Regions from separate parts of the Homo sapiens genome. Here all the other regions are linked to region 1. The links are contacts of gene promoters, found by promoter capture Hi-C in blood cells and fetal thymus (Javierre and others, 2016). All regions are on one chromosome and are shown on one strand. The core of a region is centred on a gene start or on the middle of the fragment in contact, and the rest is flanking DNA. Distances in the headings are between cores, read along the strand shown. Region 1 holds the start of GJA3 (gap junction protein alpha 3). Region 2 overlaps XPO4 (exportin 4). Region 3 holds the start of LOC124903129 (a long non-coding RNA gene). Region 4 has its middle 23 kb from the start of XPO4.

Region 1 (3,022 bases), core at 158-2,657:
TTCAAGTATTTTAAGACCTTCAAAGGTAGCATTTTTCAATTAAAAATTAAAAACTAAGTCTCCGTAACTACTACCTACTCCATACATACACCGCAAAGTTCCCAAAGGGAGAAGATATTTTAGATGCGCCTTTAGGAGCTTAGTTTTTCCTCCTTGGGATAACTTTAAATTCAGATCTCAGCAGAACAAACGCATTTTTCAGGGCAAGCCAACTGCTAATCCGAGTAGATCTAAACGCTAACGAAGGCAGCCGACGGAAGCTGCTCCATGAAGACACGAAAACTATCAGACTTGCATTTTGCCACATTCCTGGAATAAACTTATTACTCATAAAGGTGATTTTGAAGCCATTTCAGCTTGTGGAATGATCACCGAAATGCAGTCCACCGATATTTGTTAATATCCCAGGCTGGTCAAACCCCACTCCAGACCTTGGGGGACGGGGAGGGGACCCGCGGCCTCTCTAGGCTGTGCCCAGACAGCAGACAAGGACGCGATGCCGCCCTCGGTCCGCGGCCTTCCGCGGTAGGCGTCCCTCTCAAGCGTGGTAAAACCACCCCGAAGGGAACAGAAAACGTTAAAATCTTCGTTGGGCGCCAGCAGGCAGGTTAGGCCTCGCCCTGGCATCTCGTCTCCAGGACCAGATGGAGCGAGTGACCCGCGGGGACACCTTCCCGGTCACCTCGAGCGCAATAAAACAAGTTCTTTTTTTAAAAATAAGCATCCGTGTGCCTGCCGGCTAAATTAAGTGTGTCTGAAGAGAAGCAGGATGGCGGCCGCTATTTATAACCTCCCGCCCCGCCCGGGCGCCACTCCTCGACAGCACCCACGCTGTGCCCGGCGGCGCTTCCGCGGGGACTTCCTGCTCGGTGGTCCCCGCCCCGCCCCGCGCCAGCCGTCCGGAACCCGCGTCCCCAGGCGGCTGCAGGCGGGCGAGACCTAGGTGCCCGACGCCCACGCGCCTCCGACCGTGGGAGCGCCCGGAGAGCAGCTACCTCGCCGGGCCTGCGAAGCCCAGGACAGGCGCGAGCGGGGCGCGGGCTGGCGCATCTGCGTGCGGTGGGCGCCCCGCAAGCGGGTCGGGCCCGCCCCAACAGCCCTCGGCTCTCCTCTCACGTCCCGCGCGGGCATGCCCCGGAGTGCGTAGGCGGCAGGGAAGAGCCCCCGCGTCCACATCCCCAGGGCCCGCGCAGGTGCGGGATGGGGATGCAGGCGCTAGGCATGGACGTGCGCGCGGGGTAGGGTGTGGAATGCGGACGCGGGCGAGTGCTGTGGCTGCGCGTACAGGGTAGGGATGCGGGGGCGGTAGGTGTGCGTGCTGGGAAGCGCGCGGGGCGGGGCTGTTCGGAGGCGGCGGGGGCGTGGCGCGGCGTCCTGAGCTGCAGCTTGGGGGCGTCGGGCGCAGCGCACACTGGGGCTGCAGGGATGGCGATCAGGGCGGGGAGGTCGGGCCCTGGCGCGGGGCGCACGCGTGAAGCAGCACCGCACGTGTGAAAGGAATTCTTTTCAGAGCGGCCGGGAGCCCTGCTCCGGAGGAACGCACCCGGGTCGCCGCCGCGGCAGAGCGGGGTAAGGCGGGCCGGGCGCCCCGGAGGCCAGGCACAGGGGCCGAGGGCAGCGCGGGGCGGGGACGGGCGGGTCGGCGGCGCAGCGGAGCTGCCGGGCGAGCCCAGCGGGCTGAGACTGCCGAGCTGGGAAGCCGAGCCCCGGCACGTGTGCGGCTCCCAGCCCCCTAGGATTCTTTCAGGATTCTTCAAAAAGTTGTGGGGAGCTCGGGAAATTTGTGAGAAACTTTTGGAATAATTGATCTTCCTCCTTTGCTCCTGGAGGTCTGGAGAGCAGCGCCTCGTTTGGCTTCCCTTGATGGACAGTCCAAGGCCGAGTTTAAGTTGTTTTCCTGGGGTTGTTTTCCCCCTCGGGTGGAGGAAGCCGGGCTGTCCCGGACCGTCAGGCTGTAGGGCTCCTAGCGATGCTGAAATGCTTGAAAACTCTAAGCAGATGTCACCGCGCCAGCTAACGGCGCGCACCCAGCCGTCCACGGGCATTCAGCATCGCCGTGCTCCTAAAAGTCCTGTTGGGATTGTTTAGAAACAAGGTTGGCTCGCCTACATTTTTTTCAGAAACTTTTTAAAACTTTTTATTTTTAAGAAACACTGTAGCTATTAATGCCACGACCAGATTTCTCGACCTGTATGTTTGTTATGATGTGTTCAACTATAAGGAATTTGCAGAGGAGTGGAAAAGCACTGTCCGAGCCCCTTCCCGTAGGAGACTTGAGAAAACAAACGGCAGTGACGCGGCTGCATTTGCTTTGTTGCCGACTCCACACTAGTGAGCAAAATTCATCCTACCATGTAGAGTTCTCGGTTCGTGAATATGTGACTGCAACTTTAGAACTCCAGTTTTTATTTTATCAAGATGTCTCCAAAACATGCCATTTAAAAATGATTCTATACAAACAGCTGACAAGCGAATTATGGGTCTCATCACCCAGGAATTAAAAACCATGGTGATTTATGATGTGCGCATCACTTCACTGGCGGTCCATCCATGTGCAAGACAAACATTAAAAGATTAAAGAGGAAAAAAGAGGGATTTATTTTCCGAATATCAGTGTGTTCAAAGTAAACATCAGCTAGTTTGGCACAGATTCCACCTGCTCAGCAGTTTGGTTCATATCGAGATAAGCATCTCATAAGGGCAATGCATGTGTTGCTGTAGTGGAAAGTAATTCACGAAACGGTACTACTCTAACAAATCAGACAGTACTGTTTCTTAACCAGGAACCGTTAACTGGCTGAAAGCTGTCTTAAAAGAATGGCGGGTAACAAAATTTTTTGCCAATAAGGAAAATATTTTTGACCCAGTTTTCTTGAATGTTACTCACATTTTAACTTATTATATTCATTTCTCTTAGCTAAAATAACGTGTACACACTACATTTGAAACGAAAAATTACGTTTATCGCAGCCTTTTTTTTTTTTTTTTTTTTTTTTTTTTTTGAGATGGAGTCTCGCTCTGT
Region 2 (2,700 bases), core at 39-2,538, 680 kb before region 1:
TACAGTAATAACTCCTGGATGGTAGGATTGTAGACAATTTTATTTTCGTTGTGCTTTTCTACGATTTCTAGTTTTTCTAAGATAGAAGTATATTTTTGTAGGATGAAAAAATTATTTAAAAACGAAAGATTCTTACGTGTTCAGGGGGCTAAGTCTATAAGTGCATTTTGTTCTAAATTCTCATCGATTAAGAATGTACTTGTTTTTATGGGTGAATTTGTACTTCATTAGTGTGGAAGTTTGCTGTTTTGGAGGGATATATTCATTGCCGTAACTAAAAAGCAGTTCCATGCCACTAGGGCTCCTTGTTTTGTCTGATGAAGTTTGTAGTTGCAGGAGTAGCTTTAGCAGGGCTTTCACCTGTCGTTGCCCTGCCCCTCTCCTTCACTCATTTGTTTCTCATCTTGACCGTAAACCACATGTTATCTTGGGAAATGTTTGTTTCATGTGAAAAAGTAAAGCTTTTGTGAGTACGTATGGCTGTGATCATTAATTAGAGAGATGTTCCTGAAAACTTGAATATGGTGATAGTTTTAAAATAAGCCATTTTGTGGTGAATGCAGTAAGACACAATCTGTGGAAAGCTGTAAATTACTTGTGAAAAACTAGTATAGATTATTCATTTGTAAGAGTAAGAATTTGTTTAATGAGTGCTTCTAGGTTCTTTCAGCTTGCAGGTTTTTATGTTATGTGTCAATTCTGTTTTTAATAGGTTATCTCATCTGAGATTCAGAAATTAATTTCCTTTTTTAGTAAGACAAGTTTTCTCAAACATTTAGATGTGTTTATAATGTTTTATTGACTAGAGTCTTAGAAAGGATAAGTGAAAAGCTAAGTGTCAATGAAAAATTGTTTTCAGGATCCTAGGATCTTGGGATTCATCATTAGATCATTGTGAATTAAATTTTTTCTCTGAATCTCATTAATTTGATTTAACATCTACTTTCCCCACCAAAGCCTAGCTGTGTTTAAAAATCATGTTTATAGTTGATCCTCATGTTATTTAAATGTATCTGTCTAATGTTAATTGCTGGCACTATAATCATTAATCATTTTAAAAGAAAATTTTTGAAAATTAACAATTTTGTTAACTAAAAAAATGAAGGGATTGTACTTCCTGAATTTTGAGATCGCTTTAAACAGTAAAATGACAGAAATATGTGATCAACTGTTTTTTTCTGTGAGAGGCCTTAGTGCCTGGCTTCTTTGTCTCCAAGTGCCTGGGGCCATACAAAGGCAGTTAAATGGGTTTCTTGAAGATTTTGGGAGGAAGGGACATTTTTATATTAAGTCATGTATATTTTGAAGTAAAATTACAAAATGTGTGTGTTTATGCCAAACCAGTAACATTCAGAGAACTTTTATTGTTGCAGAAGGCATCTTTGATCATACCCCTAGATTCGCTAGAGAATTTGCATTTACTTCCAGGTGTGGAAAAGTCTGAGAAACTTCTTTAACATATGGGGTTTTGTGCCTTTCATAAATATTAGCTATATAGTCACGCTTGTTTTAGTTGAGATTAAGAGGCAAATAGGAATTTAACTTTATGTTTACTCTTTTTTCTTTGAGACTTAGTCTTACTCTGTTGCCCAGGCTGGAGTGTAGTGGCGCGATCTCGGCTCATTGCAGCCTTCGGCTCCCAGGTTCAAGCGTTCTCCTGCCTTGGTGTCCCAAGTAGCTGAGACTACAGGTGCCTGCCATCATGCCTAGCTGATTTTTTTGTATTTTTAGTAGAGACAGGGTTTCACCATGTTGGCCAGGCTGGTCTCGAACTCCTGACCTCAGGTGATTGCCTGCCTCGGCCTCCCAAAGTGTTGGGATTACAGGCATGAGCCACTGTGTCCGGCCTATGTTTACATTTTTTAAAGAAAAATTTCAGACATATACAAAATGGACAGATAGTCTATTAGTCACTCATGGAACCATCAGTCACCTCTCACCTTCAACAGATATTTCCTGCCAGTTTTTAGGAATTTAATATCATTAAGTTATTTGCTAAGATTTGCCAAGATAAGTATCTGTAAGGTCAAGGTACTGACATCAGAAGCATTTCTGAACAGAGATGTTGCAGTTGGTGGGTGGGTATGACAGTGTTCAGCTGTTGGATAAGCTTGCATAAATAGTATCATCTTGACTTTAATCTTTCGGTTGTTCAGAGGTAGTGTGCATATTTCTGTTTAACTCCTGGAAAGTTGCCAAAATAATTTGTATCCTCTTTCCATCCTTTGTACCTTGACTGTTTTAGTCTGGGAATAAAATCAATGAGTTGATATTAGGAGCCTGTTGGATAGAACCAATGAGAAGAAAAATCTTCATTTTTCTATTTAAAAAACTTTTGGGTATTACCTGGCTATAATATTTTGGACACTATAAAATCTGTTTCACTTTTCATCTATTTGGGAATGCATTTTACAAACAGAACGGGGTCAAACATGGGTTGAAATCTCAGCTGGCCTTAGATAAGTACTCCAGGTCACTTCTCTCAAATGTAAAATGAGGATATAGGTTGTTCTGCGAATTAAACAAAATAATACCTTCAACATTTATTATTTTTAAATATCATTTGAATTCCACTATTGAGTAGGAACAGTGTGTCCTGAGTTCAAGTCTTAGATGGATTTGTATAACTGCATTTGAGGAAGTACTATTAACACTGACCAGACCACTTAGAAAGGAGAGCTAATATTTATTTTGTCATAT
Region 3 (2,783 bases), core at 25-2,524, 660 kb before region 1:
ACTTGAATTTGAAAGTTAACCCTTTTTTGCTTTATTTGAACAATTTTTGTGTTTGTAGCTATTTTCACTTAAGCAGTTTATGAACAAGTTTGTTACTTGTTTTAAAAATGACAATGGCTAATCTTTTTATTTAACTTTGGTTAAATTTAGTTTTAGTTATATGAATTTATTGCCTACTTTAAAGCACTTTTCCACTGGATATCACTTGTGCTAGATTTGGATAAGCATCAGTATACTGTTGCATAAGAGCAAGACTTTAAATATGTTAATCATAAGACTTTAAATATGTTGGAATACTTTGGGTTGCATTCTGCCCTATAGAAGTTTACAAACTTCTTGATTTTTTTTCCTTCTATAAGGTCTTGGAAAAAAAACCCACTTTCATTGTGTTTTCTTCCTACCTTTTTGACCAGAGTCTTCTTGATCTCGCTTATGGTCTCTTCCTTCTTTGCTCATCACATAAATATTGGCATTCCTATCTTAGTTCTCAACTTTGCTGACTCTGTACACTTTCCTGTGGCTCTCTCTTTGACACGTAGGACTTCAGGCACCGGTTCCCAGATGACTCCTACATCTATATTCAGCACAGCCTGCTCCAGAGTTTCAGAGCCTTATAATCCCAGTGCTTACTGGATGTTTTAATTTGGATGGCCAACAGACATCTCAGATTTAACATGTTCCAGTAGAATTCGTCATCTTCCTTACTTGCTTCTCCTTCCTTGTCTTCCTTTTCTTGATGCATATCCTTGCCATTCATCTCACTGGGCGTCCTGCTGGGCTTTGCTTTCCCTTATCCCTCTGTCCCTTTTCCATATTCAGGTGGTGATTCAGCTTTCCGTTTTATGATACAGTTTATATTGAAATACATGTTCAGATATGGAGGAACTCTTTTGTAATGATGACATTGGAAGAAAGGCAAGAATTTATATTGTATAAAAATTAAGCATTTATTATTAGTTTTATGTGGTTTATATTTCAGGTAACATAAATTAAGCTTGAACAGCACACACCGTCTCGAAAGACAGTTATTTATTTATTTTAACTTTATTTTTAGTTATTTCATTAGCTATTTCATTGAGGGTATTCTTTCTTCTGATTGCTCGCTTCGAGACCATAATGAACATTCAAGATTGTGAGATGTATTCTTATTGTCCCAGATTACATTCTATCTGTTGACAGAATATATCCCTGGATATCATGCTTAAATGCTGATTAGATTCTAAGGCATCGTGACAAAAATTTAATTACAGATTTCGGATAAAGAACTTATAAGAGTGAGTTGTGTTCAGAAGTTTATGAACTAGACAGTGTGCATATATGAATTTGTCTATTGTACTTGGAATTTACTATATAAAACTTAAAATACATTGGAATATAGTTTGAAAAATATTTGTATTTTAGACCAAGGATTTGCAGACATTTTTTGTATAGGGCCAGATAGTAAACACTTTAGGCTTTGCAGGTCATATGTTCATATTCAACACTGCCATTGTAGTACAGAAGCAGCCATAGATGATACATAAATAAGCACGGCGGTGTTCCAGTAAAGCTTATTGATGGTCATTAAAATGTGAATGTTGGCCGGGCGTGGTGGCTCATGCCTGTAATCCCAGCACTTTGGGAGGCCAAGGCCGGTGGATCACCTGAGGTCAGGAGTTTGAGACCAGCCTGGCCAACATGGCGAAACCCCGTCTCTACTAAAAATACAAAAATTAGCCAGGCGCCGTGGCACGTGCCTGTAATCCCAGCTACTCAGGAGACTGAGGCAGGAGAATTGCTTGAACCCGGGAGGCGGAGGTTGCTATGAGCTGAGATTGCACCATTGCACTCCAGCCTGGGCAACAAGAGTGAAACTCTGTTTCGGGGGAAAAAAAAAGAATTCTGTGTAATTTCCACAGGTCACAAAATATTATTTTTATTGGTTTCCCCCCAACCATACAAAAATGGAAAAAAGAAAAAAACACAACCATTCTTAGCTCACAGCCATACAAAAACAGGCGGGGGCCAAATTTGGCTTATGGGCTGTGGTTTGTTCTAGTCCAAAGAGTATAGCATATTTTAAGCATGTCAGTAAATCAACTAACTTTGTAATGTTTAGAGATTACTTAGTGTTTTAAATTTCATTACTAGAACCTTGAGAAGTTCAGAGATTAAGGATTAAGGGACTCAGTGAACAAGGATTTATTAAGTGTTCATTGTGGCCCAGCATACCAGTGAGTACTTAAATGTTCTGACCTGAAGTAATTTAGAAACAATTTGCCTAGTCAAAGTGAATATAGCCTAAAACTATGAGTTTGATGTTACACAACATTTACAAAATAGAGAGAGAACTTTGTGTGGGAAAGAAAAGGGCTAGTTAAGTACTTCGGCAAGTACAAAATGGTACATCCAACAGTAAGTGTTGGATGGATTAAGATTAATAATGATCATATTCCTTCACTAAATTTTCCTTGGCTCTAATATGTCAGATTACAGAAATGAAACCTTTAACATCTGAGAATATTAATACTATAAAACTAGGGAGCAGTATTTCAAGAGCATTCCCTTCATACAAAACACTCTACCAGGTGTTTCATGTCCGTATTGTATCACTGAAGTAAAATATAGGTTAGCTTTAAATGGATTTAAGTATAATTTACATTTGGTATTCAAAATCTTTTAGCATTTATTAATAGCAATGATGTAGGTTAAACTGAGATTCAAACAAATTGTAAGCAAACTGAGAATTAATAAAAGAACGTGCTCATTATATTTTGGTTGAATGAATGCATGAATGTCTAGGG
Region 4 (2,975 bases), core at 476-2,975, 760 kb before region 1:
ACAACCAAGAAAACACACATACATTATTATTTTAATTTTTTTTTTTTTGAGACGGAGTTTCGCTCTTGTTGCCCAGGCTGGAGTGCAATGGCATGATCTCTACTCACTGCAACCTCTGCCTCCCAGGTTCAAGCGATTCTCCTGCTTCAGCCTCCCAAGTAGCTAGGATTGCACCACCATGCCCAGCTAATTTTGTATTTTTTTTAGTAGAGACAGGGTTTCTCCATGTTGGTCAGACTGGTCTCGAACTCCCGACCTTGGGTGGTCCGCCCGCCTCAGTCTCCCAAAGTGCTGGGATTACAGGTGTGAGCCATGCCCAGCCTATTATTCATTTTTTTAAAGAGACACTGTCTTCCTGTCACCTAAGCTAGAGTATAGTGGTGCAATCATAGCTAACTGTAGCCTCAATATCTTGGGCTCACCTCAACCTCCTGAGTAGTTAGGACTACAGCTGCACCATCGTGCCTGGCTAATTTTCACATTTTTTGCTAGAGATGGGATCTTACTATGTTGTCCAGGATGGTCTCAAACTCCTGACCTCAAGTAATCCTCCTGCCTTGGCCTTCCAAAGTGCTGGGATTACAGGTATGAGCCACCACACCCAGCCAAAACATTAGTTTTAAACTATCCAGTGGATGCCCATTTTTCATATAACAGTTTCCTCTTATTATATTACTGATTAATTCAGATAACTAACCTGTAGCACTAACAATAACATAGCAGCTGTTATTGATACAGGAGCTAGAAAGAAATTATTTAGGCAGATAGTGAGGGTAAGAGTCCTCAGCAAGGCTTTCCTTTTAATGAAAAGCAGCCCCCAAATCGTTTGTTTCCTAACAAAGAGCAGCCTGTAAAATTGAGCTGCAGACATAGACAAGCAAGCTGAAAGCTTGCACAGATGAATCCCTGCAGCTGTGCTAATAGGAGAAAGCTACCTGGGGGCCAGGCATGTGCAACATGGAGGATCCATCTTCTCTTTTCTTTGTCAACCATGTGTGCAGTAAAGAAGCAGGCAACAACGTGGTGCTGGCCAGGTAGAAACCTCATCTTCATGATAAAAGATTAGGGTGAGATGGTCAGCTTCTTCACACACTATGCTGATTTAAATGATTCAGAGATCATTTCAATTTTGCAAATGGCACACCTGGTTCAAGCAATCTCTTGTGCTTATGTTTGTTTGAGACGGAGTCTCGCTTGGTCGCCCAGGCTCGAGTGCAGTGGCGCGATCTCGGCTCACTGCAACCTCCACCTCCTGGGTTCAAGCAATTCTTCTGCCTCAGCTTTCCGAGTAGGTGGGATTTCAGGCGCCTGCCACCACGCCCAGCTAATTTTTGTATTTTTAGTAAAGACAGGGTTTCACCATATTGGCCAGGCTGGTCTCGAACTCCTGACCTCGTGATCCGCCCGCCTTGGCCTCCCAAAATGTTGGGATTACAGGTGTGAGCCACCGCACTCAGCCCTCTTGTGCCTATGTAAATCAGACATTGCCTCCTCAAGCTCGTCCATAAAACCCCACACATGGCCAGCCGCGGTGGCTCCCACCTATAATCCCACACTTTGGAAGGCCGAGGCGGGCAGATCACGAGGTCAGGAGATTGAGACCATCCTGGCCAACATGGTGAAACCCAGTATCTACTGAAAATACAGAAAAAGGAAAAAAGGTTTTAGAACTCCCTGAATGGAATTTAGTTGTTCTGCTCTCTTCCATGCATATCTTTTTCAGAGATCAGTTAAATTTTGTTGAGTAGATTTTTTTGCATGTTTCTCTTCTAGGTCACGGGAGTTTATACTATATAAATGTAAATAGATAACTGTTGCAAGTCATTTCTTTGCAATAACAGGTTACATGATCATAGTTGAAACAAAAACAGATACTAAAACAATAAGAGAGCATGCAGAAATATTCTGATGCAAATGTATTTGATGATTTGATTTCCTTCACTCTGGAATATACTACAGAATGTACTAATATAAATGTGCTTGCCTATGTCTAATCTAGAATATAATTATCCTGAACTCTACATGGTATTTTAGTCTAGAAAGTACTGTAGCTTCTCTGAGTTCTAAATCAAACCAGGAAACAGCAGAGGGCGCTGGTGCTGTGCTTTTGCAAGTGAGATGTGTGCTCATTTCAAGGGTCCACAAAATTTTCTGGCATGCTGTTTCCATGGAGAGGAAAGTAGGTGTTTTCTTTTTCTTTTTTTTTTTCAGTCAAGCCACCTGCAAACTGCAATGTGTTCTTTTAGTGATTTCTTTTTATATCTATGTTTTCCAGGAAGGTTCTGTTGAGCCTACGCAGTCACTTAGAAACAAGAAATATTTGAGAAATTTCTATGAAGTCAAATATGCATTATGTCTCCCACTCTCCAAAATATAACAAAACAAAACAAAACAACTAAACACCCTTGAATGGTATGGCTTACTCTGTTCTTGAACCATATGAGCACCTACTGTTTGTTGATTCCATGTTAAACCAACAAAAAGATACTGAGCAGGCTTATGTTCAATGTATGTATTGAGCACCATTTTGCGCATATCAAATGCTTGAAACTGAAGCTTGAAATGTCAGTAAACTCCACAAGGGGTCTCTACATAAACTTTTTTTCTTTCTTTCTTTTTTTTTTTTTTCAGATGGAGTGTCGCTGTCGCCCAGGCTGGAGTGCAGTGGCACGATCTTGGCTTACTGCAAGCTCCACCTCCCGGGTTCACGCCGTTCTACTGCCTCAGCCTCCCAAGTAGCTGGGACTACAGGCGCCCGCCACCACACCCAGCTAATTTTTTGTATTTTTAGTAGAGATGGGGTTTCACTGTGTTAGCCAGGATGGTCTCGATCTCCTGACCTAGTGATCTGCCCGCCTCAGCCTCCCAAAGTGCTAGGATTACAGGCATGAGCAACCGCTCCCGGCCTGGTCTCTACATAAATTGATCACAAGTTTTTGTAGAATAACAGTATAAAAAATAGTATAAAGCACATA

The links. The method cuts DNA at HindIII sites, captures the fragments that hold promoters and counts their contacts. A CHiCAGO score of 5 or more calls a contact.
Region 2: a contact is called between a fragment that was not itself captured here and the fragment with the promoter of GJA3 in region 1, in 1 of 17 cell types (M0 macrophages). The highest score is 5.5, in M0 macrophages.
Region 3: a fragment that was not itself captured here is called in contact with the fragment with the promoter of GJA3 in region 1 in 4 of 17 cell types (M0 macrophages, naive CD4 T cells, fetal thymus and 1 more); the score reaches 7.9 in M0 macrophages.
Region 4: a fragment that was not itself captured here is called in contact with the fragment with the promoter of GJA3 in region 1 in 8 of 17 cell types (endothelial precursors, total CD4 T cells, fetal thymus and 5 more); the score reaches 7.7 in endothelial precursors.

What each region holds. Positions count from the first base shown.
Region 1 is chr13:20,159,437-20,162,458 of GRCh38, reverse strand. GJA3 (gap junction protein alpha 3) reads left to right here and starts at 1,407. Exons shown (of 2, transcript NM_021954.4): 1 at 1,407-1,569. RefSeq lists silencers at 757-1,116, 1,347-1,426, 1,587-1,676. The HindIII fragment of the contact is 22,819 bases long and covers 1-3,022 here.
Region 2 is chr13:20,844,038-20,846,737 of GRCh38, reverse strand. All of the region lies in intron 4 of XPO4 (exportin 4), which reads left to right. Among named protein-coding and RNA genes, the nearest start is that of XPO4, 57 kb to the left of the region's middle. The HindIII fragment of the contact is 1,649 bases long and covers 464-2,112 here.
Region 3 is chr13:20,822,748-20,825,530 of GRCh38, reverse strand. The region is part of intron 7 of XPO4 (exportin 4); the gene reads left to right. It overlaps LOC124903129 (a long non-coding RNA gene), which reads right to left and starts at 587. Exons shown (of 2, transcript XR_007063711.1): 1 at 402-587. The HindIII fragment of the contact is 555 bases long and covers 997-1,551 here.
Region 4 is chr13:20,924,108-20,927,082 of GRCh38, reverse strand. No RefSeq gene overlaps it. Among named protein-coding and RNA genes, the nearest start is that of XPO4, 23 kb to the right of the region's middle. The HindIII fragment of the contact is 1,667 bases long and covers 892-2,558 here.